Linked DNA regions of Homo sapiens: all the other regions are linked to region 2. Evidence: promoter capture Hi-C in human tissues and cell types (Jung and others, 2019). All regions are on one chromosome and are shown on one strand. The core of a region is centred on a gene start or on the middle of the fragment in contact, and the rest is flanking DNA. Distances in the headings are between cores, read along the strand shown. Region 1 overlaps ARFRP1 (ARF related protein 1). Region 2 holds the start of RGS19 (regulator of G protein signaling 19). Region 3 has its middle 6.8 kb from the start of HELZ2.

Evidence for each region. The method cuts DNA at HindIII sites, captures the fragments that hold promoters and counts their contacts. A contact is called where the count stands out against the background at its distance.
Region 1: a contact is called between a fragment that was not itself captured here and the fragment with the promoter of RGS19 in region 2, in 1 of the 25 tissues and cell types used here (dorsolateral prefrontal cortex).
Region 3: a fragment that was not itself captured here is called in contact with the fragment with the promoter of RGS19 in region 2 in 1 of the 25 tissues and cell types used here (lymphoblastoid cells).

The regions. Positions count from the first base shown.
Region 1 is chr20:63,699,510-63,703,899 of GRCh38, forward strand. It overlaps ARFRP1 (ARF related protein 1), which reads right to left. Exons shown (of 8, transcript NM_001267547.3): 5 at 2,627-2,708; 6 at 2,321-2,391; 7 at 1,093-1,193; 8 at 1-1,021. The coding sequence ends at 934. Among named protein-coding and RNA genes, the nearest start is that of TNFRSF6B, 5.1 kb to the left of the region's middle. RefSeq lists enhancers at 31-912, 53-132. The HindIII fragment of the contact is 4,084 bases long and covers 1-3,449 here.
Region 2 is chr20:64,076,821-64,081,061 of GRCh38, forward strand. It overlaps RGS19 (regulator of G protein signaling 19), which reads right to left and starts at 2,698. Exons shown (of 6, transcript NM_005873.3): 1 at 2,474-2,698; 2 at 37-134. The coding sequence starts at 66. OPRL1 (opioid related nociceptin receptor 1) reads left to right here and starts at 3,262. Exons shown (of 5, transcript NM_182647.4): 1 at 3,262-3,532. MIR6813 (microRNA 6813) reads right to left here and starts at 190; the gene lies at 135-190. RefSeq lists silencers at 2,600-3,279, 3,673-3,846. The HindIII fragment of the contact is 4,418 bases long and covers 2,022-4,241 here.
Region 3 is chr20:63,579,003-63,583,075 of GRCh38, forward strand. No RefSeq gene overlaps it. Among named protein-coding and RNA genes, the nearest start is that of HELZ2, 6.8 kb to the left of the region's middle. RefSeq lists enhancers at 2,128-2,307, 3,591-4,073. The HindIII fragment of the contact is 4,585 bases long and covers 1-4,073 here.

The sequences.
Region 1 (4,390 bases), core at 158-2,657, 380 kb before region 2:
CCACACTCGCCGTCTTTATTTTGCACTCACCCTGGGTGACACTGGGCAGGCCGCTCCTGCCCACAGCCAGACTGAGGAAGAACACAGCACTCGGCAGGCCCAGTGGGGTCCGTGCAGGGAGGACCCCAGGACCAGCCTTACTCCCGAGCAGGGGACACAGGGCCCCACAGAGAACCCCTCCGGGAGGTTCTCTCCTGGCTGGGGGAGGGCTCTGGACCCCCACAAACACTCCCCAACTTGCGGGGCTGGGGCATAAAAACAGCCACTCCCAGCAGGCCCCCTCAGCTTTTTGCATCAGTCAGCTCCCTCCCGGGGGATTAGGGTGAGGTGAAGCCAGGCCCAGGCGTGGGGTATAGGTCTTCCCCCGCAGGCCTCAGCCCTGTCCCGAGGCTGCATCACAATCCAGGGCCCCCGCTGGCCTTTGGGAACATGGCCTGGGTCTTCCTCAAGGCAAGATCAGCCCCAGACCACTTCCGGGGTCACGGGGTCACGGGGTCACAGGGCAGAAGCCAGATGGCAGCCATGGCTGACGGGCCTCCTCCTCGATGGGGCGGAGACAGCCACGGGGTCTCCCGAGGGTCCCACAGGGCTGTCCTCATGCAGCCCAAGCCAGCCTGAGCACTGGAGCCCCAATTCCCAACCAGGTCTCCCTCAGACCCCCCAGAAAGGGCCTCGAAAGGCCGCCGCTGCGCCCTGTGGAAAGGCTGCCGCTGCAGGGCCTGGGCCAGCCGGGCTGCCAGACTCCCCTCCAAAGCCTCCGGATGCCTACGCTTTTCCAGACATAGAGGAAAGTTTGTCTTCGAGAAAACAAAGTAAATAGAAGAACCCCAAAGCAAAGCAAACCCACCCCCCAGATCAGCAGCATGGGAGCCAACAGGAGGCCACTCCTCCAGCACCAGGGGACCAGCCGTCCCGACGGCAGCGCGGCTGCGCCTACGTGATGTCCCTCTGCCGCGGCGGCCGGTGCACATTCCGCACGACACACTTCACCATCCACTCGATGCCCTCGCGCACCCCTTTGCTGTGAAGACAGCGGGTGTGAGGCGGGGGGTCTCGGTCCCCAAAGCCCCCGCAGGTGCAGCCCCCACTCACCCTGTGAGGGCCGAGCAGGCCTGGGTCAGGCAATCTCGCCTGCCGATCTTGCTGGTGCAGTCGCTGAAGGCCGTCTTGATGTCAGGGATTGAGAGGCACGTCTGGGGGAGGTAAGGCCGTGAGGAGCAGCCCCCACGTCTGGCCCTGTCCTGCCTGTGGGCCCGGGACTCTCAGAAGGGCGTATGCCCTTCACCCCAGGGAAACAGCCAGAGCTCCACCAGGGTCCCAGTGTCTCCCACAGAGACCACAGCAGTGAGGACCCTGTGCTCAGCCCGAGGCTGAACATGGCTGGTAGTGCCTGAGACAAACTAGACGTCCACACGGCTCCAAGGAGTCCACCCCCCATCCCCTCCCTGGGGGACACCCTGAGCCCCGAGGTGGGGCGCTGAGGACTGAGGCCTCCTGGGCAGTGGCGGAGGCAGGTCCCAGGGGCCCACACAGCCGGGGATGATGGAGAGGTGGGAGCCCTGCATCAGTGATGGAGGCAGTCTGCAGTCATGGTGGCTTCTGCTCACAACCACCTGCCCAGTCTTCAAAAAGCAGCCCTCCCCTCCCCTTTTCCTCCGAGGGGAGACCCCTGCCCCGTACCAGATGTCCCTCTTGTCGGCTGAGATTGTAGGGGAGGCCAGCCTTACAGGCTGGGGGCAACAGAGCCACCCCAGAGAAGGCAGGAAGTGAAGATTCACCTGGCCCTCTGGACGCCGGGCTGCTTCTGTGCAAAGCCACTCCAAGAGAACAGCTAGAACTCAGCGTGGCCAGTGCTCCCGGGGGCAGTGGCACCTCAGAGGGGTCTTGAGGGGCTGCCCTGGGGGTGGGGCTGGCACAGATGCCACCTCCAAGGGTAGCAGGAACAGGTAAGGGTCAGAGCTGACTCCCACCAGGGCCCCAGCATCACTTCTTTGAGCTCTGAGTTTCACCTGGGTGTCCCCACAGCTTGGCCACACACTCCTGAGACACGGCCGCCCTCCTGGGGAGAGGTGCCCTGCATAGCAGGAAGAGGCCTCTGGGCGCCTGCCCTGAGGTGGGAGAACCTCCAGGGCTGGCAGCAGCAGGTCTGGAGAGGAACCAGGCTTGGGAAGCTGCTGGGGGCAGGGCAGGCCTTGAGAATGGCTCTGTACCCCCTGGGCAGTCACTGGGCCTGGGGTGTCTGGGTGCACACCTGCTCCCCTTGCTGTGGGGGAGGCTGGGGACTCGGGAAGCTGCTGCGGGAGGCAGGGGTGGGGCTCACCTCCACATCCTGCTTGTTGGCCAGCACCAAGACGGGGACACCGCACAGCGCCTCGCTGGTCACCACCTTCTCTGGGGAGGGCAGGAGAGGCAGCGCCTCACACCCAGCATCCTGCCTCTGACTGCCCAGGGGCCCACAGGCGTGGACACTGTGACAGCCACTCCCTCTGCCCCCCCCCCCCCCGTCACCCACTAGGCAGGAGCACTTCTGACCAGACACTGAGCCTGCCCCAGGCACAGAGCTGCCCAAGCTGGACCTGCCCCCACTCACCATCCATCCCTCCCAGAGCAGCCAGGCCGCACTCACCAAACGCCTGCTTGGACTCAGCCAGCCTCTCCTCGTCGGTGGAGTCAATGACGTAGATGACGCCGTGACACTCCGCATAATACTGGGAGGAAGCACCAGGAGTTGGGGCTCAGTCCCCACCCTGCCAAGGGCCAGCAGAGCCAGGCCTGTGTCATGGCCACAGTGAGGGGCTCACATGAGGAAGGGGCAAGAGGGCAGCCCCCAACTGCAAGACCCTTCTGGGATGCATTCTGGGGTTGCGGGGAGATCTGGTGGAGGTGTCCCCAGACGCTGCTCCTGAGAACCTGCCGGCAACCTTTGGCCTGATGGTGGCCAAAGGTGAAAGACAGGGATTGGGCCAGGCGTGGTGGCTCACACTTATTATCCCAACACTTTGGGAGGCAGAAGCAGGAGGATCACCTGAGCCCACTTCACGGCCAACCTGGGCAACACAGTGAGACTCCGTCTGTACAAAAGCTTATGGTAATGTGCGCCTGCAGTCCTAGCTACTCGGGAGGCTGAGGTGGGAGGATGGCTTGAGCCTGGGAGGTTGAGGCTGTAGTGAGCTCTGATCACACCACTGCACTCCAGCCTGGGTGAGAATGAGAGACCCTGTCTCAAAAAAAAGATAGGGTTTGGGGGCTGGAGGAACCTAGACCACAGCCTGGCCCGTTGAGGGAGTGCACCTGTGGGGCTCTGTGCCAGCACCTCGCACAGGGAGGGAGTGTGGCCATGCGGATAAGACTGACCAGCGCCATCTACGAAGCGAGCCTTCCCTGCCAGGACAGGGCCAGAGTCACTGAGCTCAGACCTCTGCAGCCTGGGCTGGTCAGTCCTGGGCTCGCTGGCAACACTCCTGGGCAAGACAGGGCACAGCCCCTGCAGCCTCAGGTACAAGTGCTGAGCCCTGGACCAGATGAGTGCACCTCTATCTCAATCAGAAAAAAACACAGCAAACTCCGCGTCCACGTGGAGCAGACAACAGCTCACATTTGCCACTTTGCCTCCAGGCTGTGCCAGCTCTCCTGTCCAGGCATGAGTGCCCAGAGACCTAGAACTGGATGCTGACCAGGTAGGACAAGCTGGTGGTCAGTGTGTTAAGACACACACACCCGAGAGCATGAGAAGCCAGGAGGCACAGCCCAACTCTCCGAAATCCTTAGGGTGTCTGAGCAGGGAGTACCAGACAACCCCATCCCAGTGCCAGACAAGCTTGTGCACCTGCACTTCCCACAGAGGAGAGAAGCCTGTGCACCTGCACTTCCCACAGTGGAAAGGAGGAGGCCCAAGGCCAGGCCCCCCCACCCCCAGGAACTTCCCACAGTGGAGAGGAGGCCCAAGGCCAGGCGCCCTCCAGGGTTCTGCAGGTAGCGAGGCCCCCCCACCCCCAGGAACTTCTCTGGCCTACAGACAGGTCCCACACAGAGGCCGCCAACCCCTCAAGGGACCCTGCAGTGTGCCGGCTGTCTGCTGCTGACACAAGGGAGCAGGCGGACCCTAAGGTGGAGACCTCTGTGGCAGGAGGGGCGGCTCTGTGGAGGCTGCAGCAAGCCCAGTGAGAGAATCTCCACGTGGCTCCTGGGGCTTCTGAGCAGGGTGGCAGAAGGTTCATGTGCAACCGGGTCCTGGACCATGGGACCACGTGGCCAGAGCCACCCATCACACCTACCAGGCACAAGGTGCACAGCCCAGCAGGGCCGCAGTGGACGGGAGCGACACCTCAGGGCTGAGTGCGGGCAGGACCCAGAGCCCCACGCCCCAGTGGAGGCGTCACAGCAGTGGTCA
Region 2 (4,241 bases), core at 1,448-3,947:
CCCAGGGGAGCAGAGGCAGAGGGGGAGGTGGCATACCTGCTTCTCAGCCTCATGCGGGGTGGGCATGGGTGGGCGGAGGAGGTTGCCCAGGCTCCGTGGTACCAGCTCTCAGACCCTCACCACAGCCTGGGGGTCTGGGGAGAGGGGCCAAGGTTCTGACTGAGAACCTGAAACCCCAGCCCCTGCCTACCCCTTAGGAGGGGTCCTGAGAGGGTGTCTCCCTAGCGGGGCCTGCTCCTGCCTCTGGACCCAGCTCTGCCTAGGGCTTCTACCCCGACCCCAAGCTTACAGCAGGGCTGGGAGGGGGTCCAGGATCATTGAGGAGGGAGCTGCAGCAGCTTCTGGCCCCTCCTCCCAGGCTGGGCCCCAGATGAGGCCCCCACTGGAGGTTCCGAGACACCCCCATCCGCTCACTCCCTGGGAAGCCGGAAGCCTGGGTTCCTCTTTCTTGGTTTCCGGCTCCCAGCCCCTCCCAAAGGGGCCCCGAGAGTCTGGGGCTACCAACTGGTGCGTGCGGGTGGTGGCCAGACTGGCTTCTAGGGTGTCTGGGGTGGGGAGTGGGCAGAGTGGCTTCCCACCAAGAGTCCAGGTCTGTCTGTGGGTCCCAGAGGTCTCAGCCAGGGGCAGCAGGCTAGACCTGCAGCAGTGAGGATTTAAGTGGGACTCAGGCTGGACTTGCTGAGGGTGTGGGAAGGGGGGCAGGGCCCCGGTGAGGAGGGACATGCCCCCCAAACATGGTTCTTTGGTCCTGCTACCTCCCACCCAAGACTTCCCTCCCTCCTTGCCCACTGCCTCTAGGCTGTGAAACTGCTGTGGAACCAAGGCCCTACCACAGGGTGCGCCAGCCAGGGAAGTGGGGGTGGCAGGGGTGGGGGGCACCCTGCTCCCCAGTCGAAGCCTCGGAGTCCCTGAGGGGGGTGTGGTGTGGTGCATGTCCCTCCCAGCATTTGGTTGCACCGTCTGCAGGGGAGGTGCACCAGGAGCGCCAAAGCTGTGAGTGGCCCTCATGCCACCTAAGATGCCACTTCGAATCCCAAGTCTCCTTGGGCGATGGTACAGGGGGGCCAATCAGTGCCCCGGAGGCAGTTGTGAACACCTGCGCCCACTTCTGCCCAGGGCAGGGAGGGGCCTCCGTGCACATCCGCCACCCTCCTCATGTGCCGCCACCCTCCCTGGCCAGGAAGCTCACAACTTGATTCTACTTTATTTTCTCAATCTTCATCCCCCCGCCACGCCTCCCCTAGCTCGTGGCCTTTGAATGCTTGTTTCTGGCTGGTTGGCTTCTCTTGGCCTCCTGGGACGGTGTGTGAATGGCCCTCAGAAGAGACAGTGCTGGAGTTCTGCACTCTTAGGGCCCCCAATACCCCCGAGGCCTGGGCATGCAGAGGCCACTGCCCTGGCCCAAGTCTGGGGCAGGTGCAGCATCCCCTGGGACCTTGGCCCCTCACCACCGGCCCAGTTTCCTCTGAGACTGGGGGTCCCACGGGCTCCTAGCAAGTAGATGAGGAGACCGAAAGTAGCCCTGCAGCTGGGCTTTCTTTCAGGGGTCAAGTTTCTAGGGAAAGGAAGGGGCGTGGCAACCTGAGGTTTGGTAGCTGTACCCAGACGGGGCTGTCTGTGGCTTCCCCAGGCAGCAGTTCTTCCTCCTCTCTGTCCCCACCCAGGGTCCTCCCCCACACTCTAGCACCCCTGAGACTGTCCCCCTGGGCTACCATCTCCACCCCAGCTCTGAACTGGAGGAGGGGACGTGTTTAGGGGTGCAGGGCCGGGGTGCTAGGGGCTGCATTTGCTGCAGAGCAGGGAGCCAGCCCCTTCTTTCCCAGTTGCAGGCCCTGGACCTGGTCACCTGTCCCTGGACCTGGCTTCCTGTACCCTTCTCAGGTCAACTGGGGCAACCCATGTCCCCAGGCTACCCTCCCCCCGTCTCTCCTGGGGGATACAGAGTCTCAACTAGGGTCCTCCTGCTTGTCAACCTGGCATTGGGGACCCCCTTCCCCAGCCTCCCAGGCTTTGGCCCCCAAGTCTGGGATGGGATAGGCTGGATAGGCGGCACGTCTGCTCTCTGGGGATAGAGGATCCCTTGGGAGTGGCTGCCGCTTTGCTCCACAGAAGGAAAAAGAACGTCCCAGAGCCTGCCCAGTCCAAAAAAAGAATAAGAAAATGTGACAATCCCAGAAAAAAATGTCATAACCTTTGGGAGGGGGGTTGAAGAGGGGCTCCATTCTCAGTCCTTAGCTCCTACCCAGGGCCTTTCCCATCTGCCACCCTCCACATCTGGCTGGTGGGCGAGCCCTGGCCTGGCCCCTCCAGGGAAGGCCAGCTCTCCCCACCTCTGAAATGGTGGTGGTGGCCCACCCACCACGCTCCTCTCTCTGCTGTTAGGGTCCAGTCTGGAGAAGCCTGTGTTCTCCTCCAGGTGCCTCTTTCTTCAGCCTCTGACGCCCCCACCCCTACCTCAAAGCTCCCTACTCACCAGCGACCCAAAGGCGGGGTGGGGGCAGGAGGGGCCAGGTTGGGTCTGGGCCCCACCCTGGCTGCCGAAGGGGCGTGCACTGCAGCAGCAGGGACTCAAGTCAGACGGCAGGAGGGACTCCTGCGGCGCTCTGGAGGGAGGCTAGCGCCAGGAGCCCCCGATCGGCTGGGGCCGGGGGCGCAGCGCCTCCCCTACAGCTCGAAGGGCTGAGTGGCTGCCAGATCCAGCGGGGTGGGGGCGGGGGCGGACAGGGTGTCCCGCCCCGGCCCCTCCTCACCGGGCTGAGAGGGGGAGGGAGACGCGGAAACCTGGGTTCTTCCGGCCCCCACCTTTGAGCAATCACTTCCCCAGGCTTTGAGCTCCAGAAAAAGGGGAACCCGGCTGCGGCGCCCCCTCCCCCACGCGCGGGGGGCGGGCTCCACTTCCACTGCGGCCCAGGGTCCACGTGGACCTGGCGGCGGGAGCCCTTGGGGTTCGAGTCCCGTGCGCCGGCTCCCGAAGCTCCCGCCCAGCACGGTCCCCGGGCCCGGGCCGGGAGGGGCAGGGCCGCTGTCCCCGGCGCTGCGCGCGCGCACTCACCAGCCGCGCTCCCGAGCCACTCGCGCCGCCGCCGGCCCGCGCGCTCCAAGGTCCGGCCCGACAGTCGGGGAGGGGGCGCGGGGGCGCAGTGCGCAGGCGCCTCGGCGGCACTTCCCCAAAGCCAGGGGCCGGGACTTCCTCGCGCCGGCGGTCGCCGGGCCCGCCCCGCCCGCCGCGCCCCGCCCCGCGCTCGGCCGGCTCCGCACCCCACCCGCCCCGCCCGCGCGTCGGCCCCCACAGTCGCCTGGGGGTGGCCCGGAGAGTCGAGGTGCTCATAGTGGAGCCCTGGCTCCCGGGCGGACGGAGCCGCACGGTAGTAGATGGGGGTGTGGCCGTGGCCCCCGACTCTGCTCGGCGGGGCCGTTCCTGCTTTGCCATCCGTGTGGGACTTCCACGACAGTGGAGGCACGAGAGCTGGGCCCCATATGCTGCTTGCCCAGCTTGGGAAAGAGGAGGCTGCTGCAAAGGACCGATCGGCGGGTACGCCAGCCCGGCCCACCCCTCGCCTCCGTGAGCCGCGTCTGTAAAACTGGGTTAAGAGCCGCCTGTCTGTGCTGTGGGGGGTTCCCAAGGAAGGGGGAGATTCCTGTGCTGCGGGGCTGGGGAGAACTGGGGGTGCGGGTTCTTGCATCCGGAGTCATGCCGAATGTCTCCTGTGGGGCCTGGCAGAGTCCCTGCTGACCCGTGTGTCCCAAGATGTCCTAAAGCTTAAGGCCACACTGTCCCCTTTGCCACGAACGCCCTGTCCCTTTGGCCGACTCTTCTCATCCTTTATGACTCGGTACAGACGTGGGTTAGGCTTCTCATCGCAGCATGCTTTGGCCCTGTGTCAGGGTGGCCCTGACCCTGCTCTGGAAGTGTCTGCAGAGCATCTGTGCCCCCCGCCCCTCCCCTGGCCCGGCTGTGTGCAGCTCCTGTCCTCCCCAGCACAAGCACTCCACCCGGATAGTTCCCAGTGTCGGGATCTGTTCATAAAATGCCTTCCAGTTGCACAGGTCAGGTGCACACCTTACACCTTCACAGAACTCTGAGGGGTGCAAAGGCAGCTGGAGATTCTACTTGTATTCCTCATTCAACGGACAAGTATCAGTATCTGGGTGCCCCTGTGGGCCAGGCAGTAGGACCAGAAGCCAGCAACATAGATCAGCCTGGATCTTATGCTGGGGGGCGCAGAGTGAGTTGTGGGGAG
Region 3 (4,073 bases), core at 845-3,344, 500 kb before region 2:
GAGGGAGTGGAGCCGATTTCAGATCTCCTCCTCTTGGCCTTGTGGGAGCCGTGCAGCCGGGAGGCCTCCTTCGAGATGAGCCCCTGGGGAGAAAGTCAGGGGGACCACACCTTCTCCTTGCAGGGGTGCCAGAAGGATCTGATGGGGGTTTAGTCCCAGGATGGGTCTACGCCCCCCGGGGCCTCCCAGCTGCTCTGTCCTCTCTCCCTGCCTGGCCTCTGCACACACAGCCATGTGCGTGTGACATTGTGAAATATACATTAACATATTTGGTCTCGTCCCGTTTCCTGGCAAAAACCCCTAAAATCCCTGGAGTAGCCAAAGTGGCAAGTGCCTTTTTGTGCTGATATTGACCGAAGGCTGGCAGCCTGGAGGCAGCCTCAGGATGGGGCTGGTCCTCAGAAAGGCCTCAGCAGGAGTAGAGGGTGGTACTTGCAGCCTTGCCCCAACCTCCAGGCAGGGGAGGGGAGAGGCGGCTGAAGGCGGTCCTCACCAGTGGCCAGTGACGTAATCAATCATGCCTGGGTAATGAAGCCTCCATGAAGTCGCAAAAGGACAGGGCTCAGAGAGCCGTGGAGGTTCCTGGACGGGGTGCCCTTGTGGGGTGAAAGCTCTGCGCCCCTCCCCTTACGCATCTCTTCATCTGCGTCCTTTGTAACGTCCTTTATAATAAATGGGTAAACATGTTTCCCTGAGTTCTGTGAGCTGCTCTAGGAAATTAATCTGACCCAAATATGGGGGTTAGGAACCTCAATTTATAGCCAATTGGTCTGAAGCACCCGGGGCTTGAGATTGGCATGGGGAGTGGGCAGCAGCCTTGTGTGGACATCTCCAGGTAGATGAGGATGTCTAAGGACAGATGGCGTCTCCAGCTAGATGGTGTCTCCAGGTAGACAACAACGTCTATGAATTGACGGTGTCTCCAGGTTAACAACAATGTCTCCAGGTTAACAACAATGTCTCCAGGTAGACAACAATGTCTATGAATTGATGGTGTCTCCAGGTTGACAACAATGTCTATGAATTGATGGTGTCTCCAGGTTGACAACAGTGTCTCCAGGTAGACAACAATGTCTCCAGGTTAACAACAATGTCTATGAAAAGACGGTGTCTCCAGGTAGACAACAATGTCTATGAATTGATGGTGTCTCCAGGTTGACAACAATGTTTCCAGGTTAACAACAATGTCTATGAATAGACGGTGTCTCCAGGTTGACAACAATGCCTATGAATAGATGGTGTCTCCAGGTTAACAATAATGTCTCCAGGTAGACAACAACGTCTATGAATTGATGGTGTCTCCAGGTTGACAACAATGTCTCCAGGTTAACAACAATGTCTATAAATTGATGGTGTCTCCAGGTTGACAACAATGTCTATGAATTGATGGTGTCTCCAGGTTAACAATAATGTCTCCAGGTTGACAACAATGTCTATGAATTGATGGTGTCTCCAGGTTGACAACAATGTCTCCAGGTAGATGATGGTGTCTATGGGTGGACAATGTCTCCAGGTTGATCTGGAATCCCTCCCACTGCAGACCCTATCACCTCCTCCACTCAAGGTGTGAGCTTTTGGCTGGTGGGAGGGCGCCCGGGAGGGTCTCTGGAAAGATGGGAACTGGGTGTTAAAGACCTGCTTAAGTGAGTTATACCCAGAGGCCGTCAGTTCCTGCCCGAGAGCACATGGCCCACAGTCACAGGTAAACTGAGGCCTGGCCCTAAGCCCTGGGGACCTCCACCTGCACTGTGATGCTGGGGAGGGTGTGTGGGTTTTCCCGCAGGGTTCGGGTGATAGCGGACGGCACAGGGCAGCAGACAATGGCTCCAAGTAGACGTCTCTAGGTAGATGGTGTCTTCAGGTAGATGGTATCGGAATTAAACTGGAGCACGCCCAGCCGGCGTCGGCTGCAAAACTGACTAATCTGTTGTTGGAACAGAACCCCCACCTGGTGTCAGCAGTGAGCTGTGCTGTGAGAGTGCAGGAGAAACAGCCTAGTTTTCTGACATCATTAGAGGTGATGAGCCACCTTCTCAGCCCCTGCTCACCTCTCCCCCACACTGAAGCCTGCTGGAGCCCTCAGGCCAGGCCCTGAGCAGGAGGCATGGGGTAGGTGTTGCAGGATCTAAAAGGCCTCCCAGGGGCAACAGAGAGCCTGGCCAGGGGCTGTGCCTTTCTCTGCTTGCCCCCACAGCACCCCCAAAGCTTGAGGCTTGATCAGATATCCCTGAGGTCTCCTGGCAGGGACCTTCCTAGTCCTCACTGGCCCCCAGTGTCCCTCTGCCATGTGGCCGCCTCTCCGGGATGACAGGGGGAGGGGCCACACTCCTGCTGGGGCTGGAGATGTTGGGGTCTGGAGTGGGTGTGGGCCTGCCCTGGGGCTGCTCTGGGCATCTGGTTGACACAGAGCCAGGTGCCTGTGCGCCCCGTGGGGCAGCTGTGCCCAGCCTGGCTGCCCTGGAGGAGGGAGCCAAAACCTGGGCCTTTCCACCCAGCCTTCCGGTCTCCCCTCTTCTCCCTGGACATACAGGAATGTGGCTTGCTCCTGACGCCCAGAAGTTCAAGTCCAGAACGTTACTGCAGATGTCGGGAGAGACAAGACAGGACAGAAGGGAGCCTGGGTCAGACCCAGGTCTGCGGTCTGTTGGTCCCCGAAGGGCCTGAGGCGGGGAAAGGACAGTCTTCAACAAGTGGCAGCTGGAACACGGAGTAAAGTTTCGGGAAAAACGAAGCTCAGCCCCACCTCGCATTGCACACAAAATTTAATTCAAGATGGAACATCTAAGCATCAAAGCTAAACTGTAACGCTTCTAGAAGAAAACAGGAGAAATCTTCACAACCTTGGGATAGGCATATATTTTTTTCTTTTCTTTTCTTTTTTTTTTTTTTGAGACAGTCTTGCTCTGTCGCCCAGGCTGGAGTGCAGTGGCGTGATTTTGGCTCACTGCAAGCTCTGCCTCCCGGGTTGATGCCATTCTCCTGCCTCAGCCTCCCGAGTAGCTGGGACTACAGGCGCCCACCACCACGCCCAGCTGATTTTTTGTATTTTTAGTAGAGACGGGGTTTCACCATGTTAGCCAGGATGGTCTTGGTCTCCTGACCCTGACCTCGTGATCCACCCGCCTAGGCCTCCCAAAGTGCTGGGACTACAGGCGTGAGCTACCGCACCCAGCCGGCATATATTTCTTTAAAAAGACATAAAAGGTAGAAATATAAGAGAAAAAAATTGATAAACAAGGTTATATAAGTAAAAAATGTCTGTACCAGTGAGAAAAATGAAAAGTCAAGCTATTAGTTGAGACAAAAATATTCAAAATACACATATCTGATGAACTATATGCAAACTGAAAATGTTTTTATCTTTGTTATTATTATTATGCTTTGAGACGGTCTTGCTCTATTGCCCAGGCTGGAGCGCAGAGGTGTGATCACAGCTCACTGCAGCCTTGAACTCCGGGCTCAGACAATCCTCCGACCTCAGCGTCCCAAGTAGCTGGGACTCCAGGCATGCACCAACACCCTCAGCTAATTTTAAAATTTTTTGTAGAGATGGGGTCTCACTATGTTGCCCAGGCTGATCTTGAACTCCTGGCCTCAAGTGATCCTCCTGCCTCGGCCTCCCAAAGTGTTGGGACTACAGGGGTGAGCCACCACTCCTAGAAGGCAGATTTTTTTTAATCTCAAAACTCAAAAGTCCAGTTTTTAAAAACAAACAAAATATTTGAACAGACACTCCACACAAGAACATATACAAATGACCAAAAGCACGTGAGAAGGTGCTTACCATCCAGTCACTGGGACACGCAAATGGGACCCAGCGAGAAACCACCTCACACGGGCAGACCGACTGCGTCCAGAGTGAGGACGGCTCGTGCCGCGGAGGGTGCGGAGCAGCCACCGCTCCCGTTGGTGCTGGTGGGGATACAAGACGGCACAGCCACCTTGGAAAACAGCTCGGTCATTTCCGATACAGTTAAATGAACATCTGTCTCAGGATCCAGCAGTTCGACTCCTGCAAATCTACCCAAGAGAAATGAAAAAAGGATCTTCATTCTTCACAACGCCTGGGCCAG